Linked DNA regions of Homo sapiens: regions 2, 3 and 4 are each linked to region 1. The links are contacts of gene promoters, found by promoter capture Hi-C in blood cells and fetal thymus (Javierre and others, 2016). All regions are on one chromosome and are shown on one strand. The core of a region is centred on a gene start or on the middle of the fragment in contact, and the rest is flanking DNA. Distances in the headings are between cores, read along the strand shown. Region 1 holds the start of JAK2 (Janus kinase 2). Region 2 has its middle 66 kb from the start of PLPP6. Region 3 overlaps CDC37L1 (cell division cycle 37 like 1, HSP90 cochaperone). Region 4 overlaps CDC37L1 (cell division cycle 37 like 1, HSP90 cochaperone).

What was found. The method cuts DNA at HindIII sites, captures the fragments that hold promoters and counts their contacts. A CHiCAGO score of 5 or more calls a contact.
Region 2: a fragment that was not itself captured here is called in contact with the fragment with the promoter of JAK2 in region 1 in 1 of 17 cell types (activated CD4 T cells); the score reaches 5.1 in activated CD4 T cells.
Region 3: a contact is called between a fragment that was not itself captured here and the fragment with the promoter of JAK2 in region 1, in 1 of 17 cell types (erythroblasts). The highest score is 5.4, in erythroblasts.
Region 4: a fragment that was not itself captured here is called in contact with the fragment with the promoter of JAK2 in region 1 in 1 of 17 cell types (erythroblasts); the score reaches 5.3 in erythroblasts.

What each region holds. Positions count from the first base shown.
Region 1 is chr9:4,983,981-4,986,635 of GRCh38, forward strand. It overlaps JAK2 (Janus kinase 2), which reads left to right and starts at 1,292. Exons shown (of 25, transcript NM_004972.4): 1 at 1,292-1,650; 2 at 1,960-2,042. RefSeq lists enhancers at 343-1,176, 1,105-1,244, 2,045-2,094 and silencers at 825-874, 915-994, 1,385-1,714. The HindIII fragment of the contact is 8,817 bases long and covers 1-2,460 here.
Region 2 is chr9:4,594,724-4,597,378 of GRCh38, forward strand. It overlaps a transcript of SPATA6L not described here. Among named protein-coding and RNA genes, the nearest start is that of PLPP6, 66 kb to the right of the region's middle. The HindIII fragment of the contact is 5,639 bases long and covers 1-2,655 here.
Region 3 is chr9:4,680,241-4,682,895 of GRCh38, forward strand. The region is part of intron 1 of CDC37L1 (cell division cycle 37 like 1, HSP90 cochaperone); the gene reads left to right. Among named protein-coding and RNA genes, the nearest start is that of CDC37L1, 2.0 kb to the left of the region's middle. The HindIII fragment of the contact is 490 bases long and covers 1,071-1,560 here.
Region 4 is chr9:4,704,650-4,707,304 of GRCh38, forward strand. It overlaps CDC37L1 (cell division cycle 37 like 1, HSP90 cochaperone), which reads left to right. Exons shown (of 7, transcript NM_017913.4): 7 at 1,362-2,655. The coding sequence ends at 1,463. Among named protein-coding and RNA genes, the nearest start is that of CDC37L1, 26 kb to the left of the region's middle. The HindIII fragment of the contact is 2,506 bases long and covers 49-2,554 here.

The DNA.
Region 1 (2,655 bases), core at 42-2,541:
TCTGCCTGAAATTCTTTTCCCAGATAGTCATGGGACTGGTTCATTCTCATCCTTCAGATCTCTGCTCAAATGTCACTTATTCTAGGAAATCGTTCCTGGCCACCGTAAAATAGCACACCCCCTCCTCACTTTCTACTCCTTTTCTTTGTTATTATGTATATGGCAGCAGAAAACTATGCATTTTCTTAGTGGCAATTACACACCCCGCACATTATGCATTTAAAGCGTTGTTTGTTGTTTTGTCGCTTCCATCAGAATACAATCCAGTAGGGCAAGGAGTGTGTGGGGTCGTGTTCACCTGGTATCTCTGGGGACCTACAGCCCGGCACCTAGTAGACACTCAGTAAATATTTGAATGAATGAATGAGGCCCTTTGGCAGCCGGGAAGCCCGTCACAGCCGTTGTCTCCACCCTCTCCCGGGCTACACCAGGCCACGCCGGTAAAGTTGTTTCTCCTCTAGGAGAAACATTCGCTAGGCCTTGTTGCCAACCCGCAGGCGGCTGGGCGCTTCATCCCACCCTCACCCCTTTCCAGCCAAGGTGGCTGATGGGAGTCAGGCTCTCGAGGGCGCATTGCCACGAAACAGCGTGTGTGAGCGCGTTGTCCCCGGCCCCCGGCGCCACTTCCCCTCGGCCTAGCAGCCTGGACTGGGGAAGGACGGGTCTGCTGTACCCGGGAGGTGGAAGGAAAAGCCGAAAGCGGAGAAGTGTGCGGGAGGGGAGTCTCCGCGCGGAGGCAGCCCGGCCTCCTCCAGTGCAGGCTGCGCGCTGGGGAGCCAGCCAGGGTGAGTCACTCCCGGCCGCTTCCCTGGAGGGCGGCGGCCACACACACACCCGCCCATCTAGTGAGGGCCGGGCCCAGCGCTGGCGCCTAGCTCCAGCCGGGCACCAGCGTTTCGCGAGGCGCCGCCGCCTTAACTTCCTTGCGCGCTCACGCCCAGGGGCCGTCCCAGGAATCTCCACGCGCGCTCGCCGGCTTCCCGAGAGGCAGCTGCCCTGCGTGGCCCGCGCCTGCCGGTCCCGCGACCAGCACCGAGCGGCGCACGCGCACTGCAGGACGCGCGTCCGGCTCTCCCCCAGCCTCTATCCGGCCCGGTCTCCTGCCATTCGGGGAGACTGCAGGCCAACCGGGAGGCTGAGTTCGAAGCTAGCAGGGCGGCGAAGCCAGTGTCGCCCGCGGCGTTGAGAAGACGGTGTGGCCCCGGAGAGGGTGGAGACAACTGTGACGGGCTTCCCGGCTGCCCGAAGTGGGAGTGGTGTGGGGCTGCAGGAAGGAGAGAGGAAGAGGAGCAGAAGGGGGCAGCAGCGGACGCCGCTAACGGCCTCCCTCGGCGCTGACAGGCTGGGCCGGCGCCCGGCTCGCTTGGGTGTTCGCGTCGCCACTTCGGCTTCTCGGCCGGTCGGGCCCCTCGGCCCGGGCTTGCGGCGCGCGTCGGGGCTGAGGGCTGCTGCGGCGCAGGGAGAGGCCTGGTCCTCGCTGCCGAGGGATGTGAGTGGGAGCTGAGCCCACACTGGAGGGCCCCCGAGGGCCCAGCCTGGAGGTCGTTCAGAGCCGTGCCCGTCCCGGGGCTTCGCAGACCTTGACCCGCCGGGTAGGAGCCGCCCCTGCGGGCTCGAGGGCGCGCTCTGGTCGCCCGATCTGTGTAGCCGGTGGGTGTTATCTCTGCCTGGCTTCTGGGTGGGGGGCAGCAGCTGTCTCTCCACCCCCTTCCTACCTTTTGGTCCCGCCTGCCCCCTGCTAGTGGCAGCAAACTTCTGAGCCAGAAAAATCTTCCTCTTTAAGACGACACCTAGAACGAGTCTTGCTGGTGATATTTGCTTCCATTTGTGTCTTATAATTCCCTCGCTCCCGCCTCCTTATTCCTTTTTAAAATTTTCTAGACACTTAAACAGCCTAGAAAAAGCATTTGTTTCCCCTGGATTTATGTGGTAGTAGTTAACTGCTGCTTCTGTTTTTAGGTTTCAGAAGCAGGCAACAGGAACAAGATGTGAACTGTTTCTCTTCTGCAGAAAAAGAGGCTCTTCCTCCTCCTCCCGCGACGGTGGGTGTGCTGTCCTTTATCGCTGCAGTAAAGGCGAAGGTGTCTGGAGCTGGGAGTGCGTGCGTAGGGAAGGTTGGAAGCGTGTGAAGAGAGGCAGGGCTCATTGTTGCTTACTCTTCTGAAAATGTCAGTGCTAAACTTTTAATGTTGATCTGGGAGAGTAATTTTGGGGTGTTTTGTTGTTCGTCTTGGATCCTTTAAGAAACATTTTTTTGTTGGCTTTACACATAACGTGACTTTGCAGAGAAACGAAAAACGTTGTCCATTACCCTTTCTTCTTAAGCAGCCAGAGATTCTTAATCCTTTAAAGAGGAGTATTTCCAAGCAATAAGAGATAGCTTTTGGGAGAACACGTTAGCTATTCTTGCTGGGGTTTCTGCTACCACATTGAATGTTTCCTCATGGTTTTATCTGCCTAAGCTTGCTGTGTCGGTTGAATTTACCCAGTTTGTTTTCCAGTAATTACTAATCTGTTAGGAGAAACTCCATTTCTCTGAATGAAAGGGTAGGAGCGGCTGAGTATGGAGAAGGAAACTGGAAGTGGGAATAAGGGAAATGATTGCTTTTGGTTTCATAATAAGTTTGTACAGTGAGTTGTTGGGCTACTGCAAAT
Region 2 (2,655 bases), core at 80-2,579, 390 kb before region 1:
CTCTGTCCAGACATGAATCACTGGACATGGTGTACTCCTGCATTTTCTCTTCCCACGTAATTCTTGAATAAACAACTTGTATTTTGATAATCCTCTAAATTCTATTTACAACCATAAGGCCTTCACGATAAGAACAAGATTCAGAGGGATTAAAAAAATACTAAACAAAATCCCAGACAAGGCCTCCATTCTTCTCAACACCCACCTTGACCCCTAGTAATTCTAAGTGTTCCCTATTCTATCTCCCTGGCCAAAAAGAGACCACAAAAAGAAAAGTCCCTAAAGGATTTCATTTGAGCTCCTATTTTGTTCTCTTAGTCGTTGAGTTCATCTTGCCTCACACATCATGAAGAATATGAATCCACAAAATGAAGGACACTGTGTCCTTATTTCTGCAGGGCAATTATTCTCTCCATCAATACCTCATTCTGCTGACTAAGTAGTTCACCTTCACTTTGTAACAAGCCCAGGCCACCGGACTTAACCACTTCTTCCTTAAAAGGGCCAGGTACCTCCCCCATACACCCACAGGTTTTTAAGCACCCCTAAAATAAGTTGTCTCATGATGTCTTCCCAGCCCTGATGTCTAATCAGCCCTTCTCTTTCCTGTGACTCTCCTACTCAGTTGAGGTTCTATTGCCCTAATTTTCAGACTTCTTCAAAGGCTTTGTCAGAGTCTCCCCACCGCCAGCCTCTACCTACTCCCAAACCATCCTGCACAAGATCATCAGATTAATACTTTGCTTTCTGGCTCCAAAACTCTAACGGCTTCTTATTGTCTACAGCACAAGTTGAAAATACTCGCCTGAATATTTAGGACACTTCAGAAGATACCCCAAAGGACATTTCCTCTTCTCTATATACATATGCTTCATTATACTCTCCCCAGTTGCCTCACTCTCCCAAATCTCTTCTCTACCTGGTCTGCCTATTTTTTAAATGCTGAAAATAAGTTCTGGGCCTCCAACACCAATACCCCACTGTTTCTAACCTCCTGAAACATACAGAAGCAACAGTATCTTGGTACATAATCAGATACTGCCTTATATTATTAAGTTAATCAATATGAGACGATTATAAAGTAATGAAATTGAGTTCCACAAACCTCACTGTAAATCAATACCATTATTTTATACTACTAAACAGGAGTCAAAACTGGTGGCTTTGGGCAAGACCCAGCTTCAGACCAGCTTTATGTGGGCCACAGAGCCTTTGGCTGGTTTAGATTTGAATTTGAAGATGAACACCTTGTGGGAGGATGGGGTGTTACATGCTCCACTTCACTCCAGCTCCCATCACTCACCATTATTTCAAACTCAACTGCTTCTGACAGTCACAAATCCTGCCTGGTCCTAAAGACATCCGAGTTTGCAACACCTTTTGGGAATCACACTTGAAATATCTCGTTTAAGGTCTCATTGCCCCAGTAAGTATGGAAACTTCAAGAGGGCACGGGTTGAATTTTACACCCCTTAGTGTGACCCCTCCCGACCCCACAGGGTCCTGCGCAATACTGAGCACACAGAAGGAGTTTAACAAATACAAGTTGAGTGGGTCCATGCGAGGCTGTGGGATCAATTTTGTTAACTGCAGGGCTGGGAGGAGACCCAGTGAACAAAGGACGTCATCCTATCCCTTAAGCAACAACAAATGAGCTTTCATAATGAAGAGTTCCCACCATGAATGCAACGCTTCCAGCAATAACACCTACTGCCACTGCCTACGGTCTGTTCCTGGAAGTCATCCCAATAAAACAAGTATGATGTTTATCTCAGTTCAAAATTCCAATTTCAGTGAGTGTCCGTTCCTGGAGAAAAAGGAACAGGAAAGTTTATTTGGGGGTGGTGGGGAGGAGGGGACTTCCTAAAAATGCCGTTTACAAACATAACATTTCAATGACAGGAAATACGAGCAGAAAGCCTCTCTTGTTGGCCTAAACAAGAAGTGGTTAATTGTTCCAACTTCTGTCAAGAGACCTTAGTTGCTCTGTTATTCTGAAATGTTCTGAGTTCATGTTTTTCAAACCCTTTAAGTTGAATTATCTGTGATGCCTCAGGGCCAACCAGGTGGCAGCAAAGGGGTGACAGGAAGTGGTACAGAGAACCTGAGGTTTGGAAACAAGACAGAGCAGGGTTTGCAAACTGGCTCTGACGCTTGCTTTTCTGAGCCTCAGTGTCCTTAGCAAGAAATAGGGGGAGCAATGCTTTCCTCAAAAAATTAAATGAGATGAGAATAAGAATAGCTAATGCTCACTGAGTGCTCATTTTGTGCCAGGCACTGATTTAATGTACTTTAAATGTATTATCTACCAACAATAACATTATTAGACAGATACTATTATTACCTCCATATTATACATAAGGACATTGAGACACAAAGAGGTTAAATTATCTGTCCAAGGCACTCAGCCTGTAAATGGCAGAACTAGGATTTAAATCCAGGTACTCGGAGGGGCGCAGTGGCTCATACCTGTAAGCCTAGCATTTTGGGAGGCCGAGGCGGCAGATCACTTGAGGCCAGGAGTTCAAGACCAGCCTGGTCAATATAGGGAGACTCCTTCTCTATTTTTTATATATATAAAAAAAGAAAACAAAATACACACACACACACACACACACACACACACACACACACACACACACACACGGTGGGGCG
Region 3 (2,655 bases), core at 66-2,565, 300 kb before region 1:
CTTGTGAGAGGTTTTCCCCAAGCACTTTATTCTGTTAAAGGCTCTAGCATACTTGTGCACAGTTGCTAGGAACAGTGAATGATTGTAGTTCAGCATCACACTGAGTCCTGACAAAGATTTCACATGCGATTTTCACCGATGTTGACAACTGAGTAAATTCTTTAAATCTCGCTTTTGACGCTGGCGTACACCTCTCCCATTCGCGTGACCATCTTTGCCTTACTGTTTTGTTTTTTAGTTTTGCTTCACGTCATTCTCCAGTGAAAATATATACGCATATACTTGTGTTTTCCTTCAGACTTCTCTTAGGTTCCTGGTATTGTGTTTTCAATCCAGCATTCCTGCCTTCCTGCGACTGAAACGTATCCAAATGTGATATACTATTAAGGATTTTTCAGGGACCTATCTTAGGGGATACTTACATACTCGCATCACCTTGTCCTGTTTTTTTCTCCGAATCCGTGTGTGTTTTGGAAGTATATTTCAGAATCACAGACTAAACACTAATATATTCAATGGATCATAAGTGTCTGCCGCCTTCTTGCAAAATGGGGTTCCCAAGAGTGTAACAGATTTAATAGTAGTTTTCCTCTCAACTTATTTTGCTAGATGTTAATGAGAATGAGTTAAATTGCTTACCAGTAAGCGTGACATTATCAATCTTATGTCCAGCTAACAGGGTTAGTTGGCTTCACACAGAGAAAAATGCTGTTTCATAACCACTGTCTGTACTTTGGCCAGCTAAGTCACTGGGGAACTACAAGACATTTTTTAGGAGGACAGAATGAGAGTTGATGGGTCCATCATTAGTCACCCACTAATTTTGGATCACTAGTGTCATCTTTATATACAAAATGTATTATAAGCACATGATGTGCTAGGGAGGAAAGAAGAATGAACAGCAGATGCCATTGTCAATTTTGAAGGCATATGAAGAGAAAAAAGGGTGTCAAGAATTTCAGTGCATTGTGGTTGAATTACAGAAGTAATCTAGAGAAATATCTGTATGTTAATTTCTTACTTGTGCACTTCTAAATTTGTTTAGCTGGAAGAGATTTTAGAAGTGAGTAAGCTTATCTCTCTCATTAAAAGTGTTTTCCCTGAGGCCATGTAACTAGTTAGTGGCCAGGTTAAAACTAGAACCCACTTATGACTCCTAGTCCAGTATATTTTCCCACCTACTGCACTGCCCACCAGAGTTCGAGACCAGCCTGACCAACATGGAGAAACCCTGTCTCTACCAAAAATACAAAATCAGCCTGGTGTGGTGGCGCATGCCTGTGATCCCAGCTACTCGGGAGGCTGAGGCAGGAGAATTGTTGGAGGCAAAGGTTACAGTGAGCCGAGATCACACCATTGCATTCCAGCCTGGGCAACAAGAGCGAAACTCTTGTCTCAAAAAAAAAAATTTTTTTTGCAAACTGATTATTAATTCTGAGTTCATGTGTTTATTACAAACCTACTTATTGGTCTTACTGGCTTTAAGACTTAAATTTTTGGATTGGAATATTTGGAAAAAATAAAATGTTTAATTGATTAACATTTTATAATCCTAAAAAAAGCTTTGGCTTAATTTTATCAAATAAGGGGGATCTAGACTTCTTAATGTAGTATGTGATATGTAGTTCTTAGATCCAATTAATGTAAAGGCAGATCATGTTTAATGTCCCTCTAAAACTTCTGTATGGTCATGGATTAGAATGTGACCTAATATTTTATTTAATATCTGAATACATGTTGGATAGTTTGCCCAAATGGCCAAATGTTGTCTGGGTAGTTTGTGGAGAAATAAGACATACATTATTTTTAGAATTTTTCGATTTGAGAAAAGAATATTTGCTCCCAAATAATTTGAAAATGCAAGATAATTTCTATTTATCCATATTACCATATTACTTTTCTTGATATATTATCCTTTCTCTTTTTTTTTTTTTTTTTTTGAGGCAGTGTCTTGCTGTGTTGCCCAGGCTGGAGTGCAATGGCACGATATTGGCTCACCACAGCCTCCGCCTCCCAGGCTCATGTGATTCTCCTGCCTCAGCCTCCTGAGTAGCTGGGATTACAGGTGCCCACCACTGTGCCCAGCTAATTTTTTTTTTTTTTTGAGATGGAGTCTCGCTGTGTCACCCAGGCTGGAGTGCAGTGGTGCAATCTCGGCTCACTGCAACCTCTGCCATTCTGGGTTCATGCCATTCTCCTGCCTTAGCCTCCCAAGTAGCTGGGACTACAGGCACCCGCCACCATGCCCGGCTAATTTTTTGTATTTTTAGTAGAGATGAGGTTTCACCACGTTAGCCAGGATGGTCTCGAGCTCCTCCTCGTGATCCGCCCGCCTCGGCCTCCTGAAGTGCTGGGATTACAGGTGTAAGCCACCACTCCCGGCCATGCCCAGCTAAGTTTTAAAATATTTTTAGTAGAAACGGGGTTTCGCCATGTTGGCCAAGCTGGTTTCGAACTCCTGACCTCAGGTAATCCGCCCGCCTCAGCCTCCCAAAGTGCTGGGATTACAGGCGTGAGCCACTGAGCCCAGCCAAAAGAAGTTTTATATACAAAAGTTCTTACATCTTTTCTTACAAAATAAGTTATATAGCTTAATTTTTCTCCTTTTCCTGGCTCTGTTTTAAGCATAGCTAGTCTACAGTTATTCTTGATCCT
Region 4 (2,655 bases), core at 52-2,551, 280 kb before region 1:
TTTTGGAGAATGAGACAATGTAACAATAATATTGGTCATTTTTGATAAAGCTTAAGTGTGGGTAACCATTTAGCTTTTCATTTCTTTTTTTTAATAATTGACAGCAATCGTGTGAAATAAGCCAAATACCATTCATTATCCTTAGTTTTGAGAGGTCTAATCCAAGGCCTCTTGGATATAGAAATAATAACAGTTAACTTTAGGTTTATCCTGTAGACTAGTTTTTAATTTTACTAAATTGTGAATTTTGTTCTCCTTGAGGCTTGCTTTACTAAATAGAGGCAGGATTAAAACTGAAGCCCAGTGTGAGTGTCCCAGACCTCAGTCAGTTGTCCCTGCTACTTCCTTCATAAAGACCTGATTGGGAATAATCCGAACTCCAGCTAGCTTTTTGACTTTTAGAATAAAGGAATCTCACAAAGTGTTGTACTTTCTTAGGAGGATCTTTAGAAAACCCTGCCTCCCAACCTCCTATTGGATGGTGAGGTTTAAGACATCTATCCTGTTTGACTACTGTCCTCACTGGTGTTTATTAAATAAAATAAATATAAGTAAAACTAGTAATACAAGTGGTAAAAGTCTTAAGTAACTAGCAGATATTCGGAACAATTGAGTAGACAAAATTGAATTGGGGAAGAATTTTCTAAAGTTCTGGGTCTTAAGGGCTATACCCTTATTCATGGTGCTTTAATAATGGTTTTATTTTTGCATTTATTGAGTAAGATTTTATGTTTTCTATTCCCAGTTTTTGAAATTGACAAGCATAACATTTATGAGTTTATGCTTGTTTAACAAATCCTGTTGTTTTATTCTCAGTTTAAAAAATAAGGGTGTAAATACATCTCAAAAGTGTACAGATTTCTCACTGAGTTTGTTTTAACCTTTGGGAAACCACAATAGACCCTGAAGATATCCATAATTTTTACCCAGTAAATTTTTTCTTTATTTAGATGATTTGCAGTTTTAGTATTTACTGTTGTAATTAGATGGTAATCTTAAAAATGCATTGCTAACTTCAAACCATATTTAAATTATCAGTAGCTATGTATATATAATCACATGGAGGTTGTAGCCTTGCCTTGTATGATTAAACAGAGAAGAAAGGTGGTATTTGTTAACATTTCTGTTTTTTACATGTATCATTCTTTTATCACATCTCATAGGTGATAGCATCCTATTTTTTTCTTTATTTTCTTGGGATTCAGCCCAAGTCTGTCTCCAAAGTCCATCTTCTTTCCTACTGCTCTACTACACTGCAGAGAAATAGGACGGTGAAACTGAATATATATGTATGTACTGTCATAAAACTGGTTATAATGCGTTCTTTTTCTCCCCCCAATCTACCTTTTCTTTTTCCCCAGAATCCAGATTATCTTCAGTATTCTATCAGTACAGCTCTCTGCAGCTTAAACTCGGTGGTACATAAAGAAGATGATGAACCCAAAATGATGGACACTGTATAATTTGGTTAAGACTGCTGAGGCCAAGTGCTATTTTGTTACAAGAAAGGAAGAACTTGGCTATTTTCTTGACACTTTTATGGGTGCTGCACTTTATTTTTGTTCGGTTTTTGATGGGAGGGAAAGAGTACTGAAATGTTTTGTAAATTTTTTTTAATGTGCTGCTAGGTTTTTTGTTTTGTTTTGTTCTGAAGAGAAGAGTGGTACCATATGTTGCAGGAAGTCAAACTGGACTTTTTGTGGCTACTAAATTTGCTTTTAATCTTATTGTTCTCAATTTTGGAATCAAGTATGAAAATCTGCACAAATGCAATGTTTACAAGAACTGGTTGATTCTGGGAGGCATCTGCTACAGTCTCTTTTTATATGGATATGTACATGTCCTATTCTACAAAAATGATTAAAGATAAAAACATACTTGTATCCCACTGCTACTTTAGCTGTCAAATTTGGTGTTTCATCACATTAAAAGCAATAAATCAGTAGTTGGTAATGTACTTTACTAAATAAGTTGGGGGGTACAATTTTTAAAAGTCTTAACTCTTAAATACTTGACTTTCGGCACCATCAGTTAAATCCTTGACTATAATACAAATTTGATATATACATTACATTTACCCTCAAATTATTCTCAAAACTATATTCCTTAGAATTTGATTTTACCCTGCTGACTTTAAGAGTTATAATAATATCAAATGTGATGAGCTAATATAGATTTTCTTTTTAAATAAGAATAACTTCAAGCTCACTCTTTCTTAACATAGTCTGGGATCTCTCAGGGAGTAAGTTTTAAAAGAATACTAATGGCTTGTAAGAACAAACAGGAATAATAATCTGATTTTTAAATTTGTAGTTATTTTACTCATGTTGCCTTTTAATTTTTGTTATTTTGGTTTATTTTTTGATGTAGCCTTTTAAAAAAGGAGTCTTAAAAATGATTTTTTTTTTAAAGGCAAGAGAAATCTTGTAGTGCTAACTGCCTTGAGCTGCCAATTACCTATTTCTGAGAATTTGGTGACTCTTATTGGTAATGATGGCATTTACAACATTTGGCATTTCCCCTTTTTCAGCTCAGTTACCATAGAATACTTCCAAGCTTTACTACTTCCTCTGTAAGTCATTTCAGTTATGCCAGGATATTTGATGATTTTGTTTATGTAGAATTAGGTAACAAAGCCAATTATGCTATCCTTAT